Linked DNA regions of Homo sapiens: region 2 is linked to region 1. The links are contacts of gene promoters, found by promoter capture Hi-C in human tissues and cell types (Jung and others, 2019). All regions are on one chromosome and are shown on one strand. Each heading gives the region's core, a stretch centred on a gene start or on the middle of the fragment in contact. The rest is flanking DNA. Distances are from core to core; before and after follow the strand shown. Region 1 holds the start of ZFP69B (ZFP69 zinc finger protein B). Region 2 has its middle 5.9 kb from the start of RIMS3.

Evidence for each region. Contacts are between HindIII fragments. The study calls those that stand out against the background at their distance.
Region 2: a fragment that was not itself captured here is called in contact with the fragment with the promoter of ZFP69B in region 1 in 2 of the 25 tissues and cell types used here (adrenal gland and pancreas).

The regions. Positions count from the first base shown.
Region 1 is chr1:40,448,054-40,453,417 of GRCh38, reverse strand. ZFP69B (ZFP69 zinc finger protein B) reads right to left here and starts at 2,942. Exons shown (of 5, transcript NM_023070.3): 1 at 2,330-2,942. The coding sequence starts at 2,456. It overlaps ZFP69B-DT (ZFP69B divergent transcript), which reads left to right and starts at 3,379. Exons shown (of 5, transcript NR_198977.1): 1 at 3,379-3,598. RefSeq lists an enhancer at 1,649-2,848 and a silencer at 3,064-3,323. The HindIII fragment of the contact is 23,553 bases long and covers 792-5,364 here.
Region 2 is chr1:40,668,866-40,674,229 of GRCh38, reverse strand. It overlaps a transcript of RIMS3 not described here. Among named protein-coding and RNA genes, the nearest start is that of RIMS3, 5.9 kb to the right of the region's middle. RefSeq lists enhancers at 5,060-5,109, 5,170-5,319. The HindIII fragment of the contact is 3,826 bases long and covers 327-4,152 here.

The DNA.
Region 1 (5,364 bases), core at 1,693-4,192:
TTAATTATCTCTCTCAGTTGAGTATTAATGAGGGTATGGATAGAAACTGTACCTTGCTCATTTTTCTCCATCTGCTAAAGTGCTACACATAACACACTGCCAGCTTTCTAGAATTTAAGTAACACTGGCTGAATTGAGGTATTAAAAATATGCACTACAGGCCAGGCCCGGTGGCTCAAGCCTGTAATCCCAGCACTTTGGGAGGCTGAGGTGGGTGGATCACGAGGTCAGGAGTTGGAGACCAGCCTGGCCAAGATAGTAAAACACCGTCTCTACTAAAAATACAAAAATTAGCTGGGCGTGGTGGCAGGCGCCTGTAATCCCAGCTACTTGGGAGGCTGAGGCAGGAGAATCACTTGAACCCGGGAGGCAGAGGTTGCAATAAGCCAAGATCGAGCCATTGAACTCCGGCTTGGGTGACAGGAAAAAAAAAAAAAAAAAACCACTAGGAATTAAGGCACATGAATAACTGTCTTTGTATTTTATTCCAACTTTTTATCATGAATATTGAACATCTATACATCCACATCTAGATTCAACAATTGTTAATATTTACCATATTTGCTTTACCTATCTACATTTTTTCTGAAGCACTTCAAAGTCGTCTGCATCATAATACTTTATCCCTAAATATTTCAAATAAGGATCTTCTCTTGTACAACCACAGTACTATTTATTAAATCTATGAAAATTAACAATAATTCCATAGTATCATCTAAATATTCAGTCCATATTCAGATTTCCTCAACTGTTTCCTCAACTTTTATTCTGGATTTTTTCCAAACCAGGAGTTAATCAAGGCTCACACATTCAAAGTGGTTGTTACCTCTAGTCTCTTTTACTCTAGAATAAGTACTTCCCCTTTCTTCATGATGTTGTCTTTTTAAGATACAAGAACAGTCTGACTGTATCCTCAATGTGAGGTTTATCTCATTTCTCCATCCCCTGTATTTTCTGTAAACCAGCAGTTCAGTCTTTAAACTTAATTTAGGATCATGTTCAACATTTTTGGTAGGAATACCTTGTAGGTGGTACCAGGTGCTTTATATTACAGTATCTGCAAAGTATAAAATGCCCGGCTATCCCATTACTGAGACATTTGATTAAAACTGTGACCACCACACCTCACTATTGGAAAATTATGTTCATTCCTTGCCATTTAGTAAGTAATTTGAGGGGATAATACTTTGATATCATGTGAGTATCTGTTCCCCATTAACCTTTCAATTATTTTATTTACGGTAAAAGATTCTATCATTCTTTCTACATTTATTTATTTATTTATTTATTTTTGAGACAAGGTCTTGCTCTGTCACCCAGCCTGGAGTGCAGTGGCGCCATCTCAGCTCACTGAAACCTCCCCTTTCCTAGTTCAAGCGATTCTCGTGCCTCAACCTCCCGAGTAGCTGGGATTACAGGCATGTGCCACCACGCCCAGCTAATTTTTGTATTTTTAGCAGAGATGGGGTTTCATCATGTTGGCCAGGCTGGTCTCAAACTGCTGACCTCAAACTCCTGGTCTCAAGCAATCCGCCCACCTTGGCTTCCCAAATTGCTGGGATTACAGGCATGAGCCACCACACCTGGCCTCTTTCTACCTTCATTATTGGCACGCATTTTCTGTAAAAAGCTTTCCCTCACCAACTGAAGAGGATCTAAAAGGCAAGGTAAATGCACATTCATTCCCATAATAACCTATTTTTCAAAGTAAGGAATCAGTGTATTAATTACCTCCAATGTTTGCAAATGAATTCCCCCCCCCCCACGTCTTTCTCTATTTTAAGTGTCAAGGTGATCATGTGGAATTTTACTTATTCAAGGTGTTACCATCAGTTTGGATACTTAAGCTTTCCCAAATCTGTCGAGTGAGAGACCCTTAAACCTGGCCTCTTTTGACACATATCCATAGTCTTTAAGCTCTTCCTTGCTTTCTAGCACAAGTTACTCCAGGCTCACCTGGTACTTCCCCTGCTGCTTCTCTTTCTGACCTAGCCACCAAGTTCCTGTGTGACCCTGGGCAGGCCTCCCATTTGATTTACATTTCCCCACTGTTAGAATAAGAAAAATCAGGTTAAGTCCATCCTGCCCCACATGGCCATGGGAAAGATGAAAATAAATAATATACATAACCATGACACTGAAATACTGGTCCTAGGCTGAAAAGACCACCACTACTTAGGAAAACCCCAGACTAGGAGCCACAATCAACAACTCCGGAAACCCTCCACCCACTCGTCTCCCTAAGAGATGCTTCCACTCAAGTGACTCATTCCTTCTCACACTAGAGGGGACTGCTTTTCCTCCCTCCCACCCATCAGTTTATTCTTACCTTCTGCTTTAAACATCTTAGTCACATCCTCCCACAGGGCCACCCGCTCCGTGGCCGCCTTTGGATGACGCAACTTCACCCAGGTGCTGGCCTCGGTGGGCAGGGTGATCAGGAGCTGCTGCAGCATGACGGCGTCCGCACTCCTTTCTGAGGACCCTCTGTCTTAGCCCATAGGGCTTGTCCACCTCTGATGAGGAAATTGCTGGAAGCTCTGACAGGAGGCTTCCCAATTGTACCGATCTCCTTAATCGCCGACTCCTACTCCTCAATGTCCTCTCTCAGGAACCCAGGGAACATACAGTATCAAAATCCGAGATCTGGACTTGTGTCTATCATCGGCTCTCAGGGCGTATCTCCCAACTTGAGCTCCATCTGTCTCCTTGGCCAGCAGCTGGAGGCGCCAAGTATTTACTCTCAGCAGCCCCTGCAGATGCTGAGCAGAAGACATTAGAATCAGCAAAGGACTAAGGAGGCTCAGTCATAGGGCAGAACGCTAGAACATATATGGATCACTGTAAAATGTTTCCAAAAGATACACGGAGACGGTGGGCAGACACAGCCCACAAAATTCAAAGCACCGCGCACATGTCAGGAAGCACAAAGAGACGAATACAACCCAATTCTTTGTTTGGGGCAGTAATTATGTGTAAAGTAGCCGGGGATTTGGAATCCCAGCTCTTTCACTAGTCGGCTGTAGCAAACCGCGAAACCGCTAGACCCCGCCTCCTCCTCCCCAAATGAGAGGCTAAGTCCTCCCCACAAAGCAAAACGCCCCCGGCCCTAGCCTCCCAGCCTTTGTCTGAGCACGACTCCGGGGCTGCGGAGAGCACCGCGCGCGACAGGGTGGCCGCGGGCGGAACTCGCGCTTCCCGGCTCGCCCAGCTCCCCAAGCCCGGGACAGCCACCCGCTCACCCTCTCCCCGCTGGGCCGGCACGCCCCCGCCTTCCCACCGCTGCAGCCGGGTTCCGGCACTGCGCGGCCAAGCTCCCACGTAGCGCTGCGGCGGGCAGTCGGGGCCCAGTGCGCCTGCGCAGCGGCTGGCTAGAGCATGGTTCCCAGCGTCCTCCCGGGGAGCCGCTCCGCCAGCGCAGACGCCCCCACCGGTGCGCGCCGGGTTGGCTGCGTTCAGGGGCTCCCAGTATCCGATCCCTGCGAGCATCATCAGCCTGGCTCCTGCGGGAGGAGATGGAGCCTGCGTTCTTGGGCCCCAGACTCTGATGAAGAACAACCATCTTTCCTCCGCTGGGAAAATGCACGTGAACGTTAGGGTGAGCCTTTGAAACCCGTGACAAAAGGGAGCCATCGGCATCACGTTTTTTGGTGAAACGACACTGGTGTAAAATAATCCATAGCACTTTCCCTAAATATTATGTACATGCCAGTTATTTATTCTCAGCAGACAGTTGAATGGATTCCGGTATATTGTTAAAAGAATACCACAACAGTTTTCTCTTCTAGTATTCAATAAAAGTTCTCATGTTTATTGCTTACCTTGTATTTCTGAAATGCCAGAAAATACACAAAAACAAAAAAATTATTGCCTGTAATTTCAGCAAGCAGCGGTAACCTTGCTAACAGTTGGTGTACAACCTTTCCTGCACACACACAACGTATTTCATGCATTGTTATATATTTTCCACAAAAGCGATTATACTGTAATGCTGTTTTATTGCTGAGTTTTCTCCCTCCAACAAAATTTGAGTACATCACTCCAAATACATTTCTACATCAACAGTTTACAAAAACAACAAATGAGGAAATAGAATACAATTATAGTACTTGCTAGCTGTTATGAACCGAATGTTTGGATTCCCCAAAATTTATCTTGAAGCCCTAACCTCCATTGTATTTGGAGAGTATTTAGAGATAAGGCCTTTATGGAAGTAATTAAGGTTAGAATATAGTCCTAGTCAGAAACGAACCCAACTCGACCTTACTTGGGGCTTCTAGTCTCCACACTGAGAAAATAAATTTCCGGTTTTTTGTTTGTTTGTTTGTTTGTTTTTTTGAGATGGAGTCTCGCACTGTCCGCAGGGCTGGACTGCAGTGGCGTGACCTCGGTTCACTGCAACCTTCGCCTCCTGGCTTAAAGCGATTCTCCTGCCTCAGCCTCCCAAGTGGCTAGGATTACAGGCGCCCGCCACGACGCCCAGCTAATTTTTTGTATTTTTAGTACAGACGGGGTTCCACTATGTTGGCCAGGCTGGTCTCAAACTCCTGACCTCGGTGTCTGCCCGCCTCGGCCTCCCAAAGTGCTGGGATTACAGGCATGAGCCACTGCGCCCGGCCAGATATCCGTGGTTTAAGCCACCCAGTCAATGGTATTTTGTTACAGCAGCCCAAGCTGATGAATACACTAGCATATAATAGTTACAGAATATGAGGCTCTGTCCTAAGTGCCTTTCATATTTTAACTTATTTTGTCATCACAGAAACCACTGGAAGTAAGTACTATTATTATTCCCACTTTACAGATAAGAAAACTGAGATTTAGAGAAGTTGAATAACTTGCCAAGATCATGTGGCTTACAAGTGGTGAACACAGGCAGTCTATGTTCCTATCTGCTACTCAACAAAAATACAGCATGAAATACAATAAAATGTTAATGGTAGAATCTAAGTAGTGGTATAGGGATGCCGTAATGTAAAATTCTTTCAATTTTTCTGTATATGTATATGTTTTCATAATAAAATATCAGAAAAATACAGCTAAGAATAAACAAGAATTATGCAGGAAATTATAAATAAAACTCCAAATTTTTTGTTTAAATGGTGAGAATAGTGATACAACACATTCACGAGTTGAAATAGAACATTCTAAGTATGTCACTCTTCCTCCAGTTCACATAAACTGTGATGCATCCCAATCAAAATTTCAACTTTTTCGGCCGGACATGGTGGCTCACACCTGTAATCCCAGCACTTTAGGAGGCCAAGGCGGGTGGATCACCTGAGCTCAGGAGTTCGAGACCAGCGTGGTCAACATGGCGAAACCTCATCTCTACTAAAAATACAAAAATTAGTTGGGTGTGGT
Region 2 (5,364 bases), core at 990-3,489, 220 kb before region 1:
AGCAGACATGTCGTAATGCTTGTTAAATGTCAATTATGAATATCTTCTTCCTCCTCCTCTTCTTCCTTCTTGCCCCCAGAAGCTTATGATATAATGAAGATAAAGGCAGGAAAATAATTAGAAAACATGAGCACTTTAGAAGAAGTATAAACAATAACCACTTACTGTAAGCGGTAGCTACTGTTATTGTTTATGCATCTTCTAAAGTGTTCATTTATTCTCATTATTTTCTTGTCTTTATCTTTATTATATCATGTATCTGACTGGTACGTATACCAGTCACTGCTGATCACTTTACATATGTTTTCTCATTTAATCTTTACAACTCCCCTGTGATGCCAGCACCACATTTCACACATGTGGAAGGAAACAGGCTCAGAGAGTGATCCACAGATAATAAACAGCACAGCAGGGCTCTGATGCTAAAGCCTGTTCTGTTAACCACTGTGCAGTCTTCACCATGCTGTTAGAGCACAGGGGACCATCTTGGCCTAGGTAGAAGGACAGGGACGACTGGAGAAAGCAGTGGACTTCCAGGAGGAGGTGACATCTGAGCTCATCATGAGCAAGCTTTCCTCAGTCAAGTGTTGGCAAGGCTCACTGTAAACAGAGGAAGCCACATGTGGGAATAGCAAGATGCCAGCAGAGTACAGGGAAAAGCTAGAGTGGGGGTGTGAGTGGGAAGAGGGCCAGGAGCACATTGCACGACCCATGAGTGAGCGCCTCCCTACTTCTGTACCCTCGGTCCCTTTGCCCTGACCCTATTCCTAGCCCTGGCGGAGAATGTGAAGATGAGGCCAGAGGGAACATTGAGAAGAAGGATCTCAGAGAAGAAGGAAAATTCAGCAGAACCTAGGAAGTGCAACTGCTATTGCCTGGGCCTTTGTTCCTGGAATGGACTCTGAGAGTGCATGGTAAAGTCTAAAGTGAAAAATTCAAGAGGAGGGAGCTTTCTTTTACCTGACTTTTGGGTCTTAATCTTAGTTGTTACTTCCTTTAGGAAACATTCCTTGGTCTAACAAGCCTGAGACCCTGAGATGCTTTTTTTTTTGAGATGGAGCCTTGCTGTGTCTCCAGGCTGGAGTGCAGTGGTGCATTCTTGGCTCACTGCAACCTCCGCCTCCCAGTTTCAAGCAATTCTCTTGCTTCAGCCTCCCAAGTGGCTGGGATTACAGGCACCTGCCACCACGCTCCGCTAATTTTTGTATTTTTAGTAGAGACAGGTTTTCACCATGTTGGTCAGATTGGTCTTGAACTCCTGACCTCAAGCAATCCACCTGCCTTGGCCTTCCACAGTGCCAGGATTACAGGCATAATCACAGCCTGTAATCCACCATGCCCGGCCTTTTTTTTTTTTTTTTCTCCAGAGATGGGGTCTTACCCTGTCACCTAGGCTGGAGTGCAGTGATACAATCAGTTTACTGTAGCCTTGAACTCCTGGACTCAAGCAGTCTTCTGCCTCAGCCTCCTGAGTAGCTGAAATTACAAATGTCAGCCACCACACTGGTTTGGCGGCTAGGTCTTATTTACCCTTCCACCCCCAATAGAGCATGTGGCTCAGAGTAGCTGCTCAGTAAAAGACTGATGAATGAATAACAAATAGCCTCCAAGGAGCTTCTGCCAAGTCTTTCAGACCACATCGATTTTCTCTCTGTCTCTGGAGTCCTACTGACCTTAACACTTGGAATCCTATGCGTGTTTGAACCAGAAGAAACCTTAAAAATCATCTAGCGGCCAGGCACGGTGGCTCACGCCTGTAATCCCAGCACTTTAGGAGGCCGAGGCAGGTGGATCACGAGGTCAGGAGATCGAGACCATCTTGGCTAACACGGTGAAACCCCGTCTCTACTAAAAATACAAAAAATTAGCTGGGCGTGGTGGCGGGCACCTGTAGTCCCAGCTACTCAGGAGGCTGAGGCAGGAGAATGGTGTGAACCCGGGAGGCGGAGCTTGCAGTGAGCCGAGATAGCACCACTGCAGTCCGGCCTGGGTGAAAGAGCGAGACTCCGTCTCAAAAAAAAAAAAAAAAAAAAAATCATCTAGCTATCTCCTACCTCTACCATCTCAAAGATGGGGTGATTGAGGTGATCACTTATTTGCCAACTGTATTAGTCTGTTCTTGCATTGCTATAAGGAAATACCTGAGACTGGGTAATTTATAAAGAAAAGGGAGGCTGGGCACGGTGGCTCATGCCTGTAATCTCAGCACTTTGGGAGGCTGAGGTGGGCAGATCACTTGAGATCAGGAGTTCGAGACCAGCCTGGGCAACATGGTAAAACCCTGTCTCTACCAAAAATAATTAGCTGGGCATGGTGGTACATGCCTGTAGTCACAGCTACTTGGGAGACTGAGGTAGGAGAATCCCTTGAACCTGGGAGGTGGAGGTTGCAGTGAGCTGAGATCACGCCACTGCACTCCAGCCTAAGCCTAGGTGACAGAGTGAGACTCCATCAAAAAAAAAAAAAAAAAAAGAAAAGAAAGGAAAGGGGTTTAATTGGCTCAGAGTTCCACAGGCTGTACAGGAAGCATGATACTAGCATCTGCTTGCCTTCTGGGGAAGCCTCAGGAAGCTTCCAATCATGGCTGAAGGCAAAGGGGGAGCCAGCGCGTCTTACATGGCAGGAGCAGGAGCAAGACAGAGTGGTCGGGTGGTGCCACACACTTTTAAACAACTGGATCTCATGAGAACTCACTCACTATAATGAGAAGAGCACCAAGGGGATGGTGCTAAACCATTCATGAGAAACCACCCCTAGTATAATCATCTCCCACCAGGCCCCACCTCCAACACTGGGGATTACAAATTTGACATGAGATTTAGGTGGGAACACAGATCCAAACCATATCACCAACAATCTTAGTTTTGTATCTCCAGCCACAGTTTCTCTTCTGAACTCCACAGTGAATCAGCTGCCTATGCAGCCCTCATCTGGGATGTCCCACAGTGTGTGCATCTAAACACATCCAGAATCAGCATCCCCCCCAAGGCCTAGGCATCATTCAGGCTTCCCTGTCTTGGTGAAGAACATCACCACCCAACCAGTTGTAGGGACCACCTACCTCCTACAGCCTCCCACTACCAATAAAACAGCAAGTCCAGCAGTGTCTACTACCTAAACCACAAAATCTCTCCAATTTCCCTCTGCCTCCCTAGCCCAAATCCCCATAGCTCTCAATGGACCCCTGCAAAAGTCTCATTAGTTTCCCCAAATCTGCTCTTTCTTTGTACTAATCCATGCTCCTCATTGCAGCTGGAGTGACATTTAAAAAATGCTACTTTCTCCTTTAACTCCTTTGCTGAAAGATTTCCAATATCTCTCCACTTAAAAAAATATATATTATTAAGTTATTGGCCAGGCGCAGTGGCTCACTCCTGTAATCCCAGCACTTTGGGAGGCTGAGGTGGGTGGATCAGGATTCAAGACTAGCCTGGCCAATATGGTGAAACCCCATCTCTACAAAAAACACAAAAATTAGCCAGGCGTAGTGGCACATGCCTGTAATCCCAGCTACCCAGGAGGCTGAGGCAGAAGAATTGCTTCAACCTGGGAGGCGGAGATTGCAGTGAGCAGAGATCACGCCACTGCCTCCTGGGTAACAGAGTGAGACTCCATCTCAAATATATATATATATATATATATATATATATATATAAAATTATAACTAACACTTATGGAAAATTTATATCCTAAGGTCTGTTCTAAGAACTTTACACATATTAACTCATTTAATCCTCATAACTCTAAATATTCCCATTATACAGACAAGGAAACAGAAACTCAGAGAAGCAACTTCAGGGCCTTTGTGTAAGCTCTTACCCATCCTTGGCTTGTTGATCTGGCTGACTGCTATTCAAGCTTCAGATGGGATGCCTTGGGGAGCATTCAAAGATCTCCCTGTCTAGGCCAGTCCCTCCCATAGCATCTAACCCAGTTTTTATTATACAATTATTTAGGGGGTGATTTGGTTCATGTCTGTCACCCCCATAGGCTTTAAATTCCATGTTTTGCTCATAATTATATCTTGAATATTCAACATATAATAAATACTTGATATTTGTTGAATGAATCAATGAAAAGCATTTTCAGTAAGAGAGGGGATGTGGTCAGATTTGTTTTAGAAGGATTTCTCTTGTGTAAAAGTTTGAAGGTGGTGAGACCAAGTCACCAACAGCAGCTGAATTCAGGAGTGACAGGAAGGCAGGCTGGACTAGAGGAGAGGCAAGAGGGATGGAGAGAAGTGGGTGAACCTAGGAAGTATTTAGGAAGCAAACTGGATGGCTCTGATAATTAAGTGGATAGAAGTGAGGAAGAGGAAGGAATCAGGAGGGACTCCCAAGTTTCTGAGAGCACCTTGAACTGGGGTGAGAAAGCATCTGCAAAGGAGGCAGGTTGGGTTGGCAGAGCAGGCTGTCCCTAGACCCAAGCAACTGAAACATGGAAAAGCTTTCAAAAAAATCTTTGCACCCAAACTCCTTAGCTTGGTCCTGGTGTACTTTATTCAGCCCCATCTGTGGTCTACCCCCAAACTCAGAGCATATAGATCACTGCTCCTCCCCCAAGCCCCACTTGTCATCCAGCCCACCTTAGTAAGTGCCACCCCACTACTCTCTCTCCACAAGATGCAGCTTGGAGGACGTCTCCTCTGGGATCCCTCCCCACTGCCCCCACCGCTTCCTGGGGTGAATGAGTCCTCTGTAGCCATCAGGATTCGCTGTATCAGGAGTGTTCCTCTGCTGTCACCTCTGATGACTATTTTCCTCAATTCAGAATCCCCAGCACCTGCAAAAGGCCTGGATAAAGGTAAACCTCAAAAAAGTTTGTTTTATTGAATTTTCCCAAAGGTTTGGCTTTATTACATTAAGAGCTGAGGCCAGGAATGTGGCAGTAAATTCTGGTGCCACCACTTAGAAAGACAAGTCACTTTTTTCAAGCCTCAGTTTCCGTCCATCAAATGGAGATAAGAATACAGTGCACCTACCTCGAAGAGCTGTTTTGAGGGGAAAATGAAATATGCTAGGTTAAGTGTTTAACACAATGCCTGGAACATGGTTAGTTCCCTCAAAAAATTAGCTGTTATTTATTTATTTTTAAATTCTCGCCTTGATGCTCAGAAGGGGCTGAGCAGGAACAGAGGATTGCAGTTCTTAGGATGGCCACGCGAGGGAAGTGGTGAGCAGCCTCCAGGAGGACTTCGGCTCGGCTGTGCCAAGGCACCTGCTGAGGACCCAGATGGCCCGCCTGGGGTTTCCGGGACTTCCCGGCCCCTAAACATGTGGGCGCTGGCCAGAGCGCCGCAGGAGAAGCCTCTGCCAGGTGCTCGGTCTCGACTCTCACAGCCCCAGCCATCCCTCCTGCTCGTCC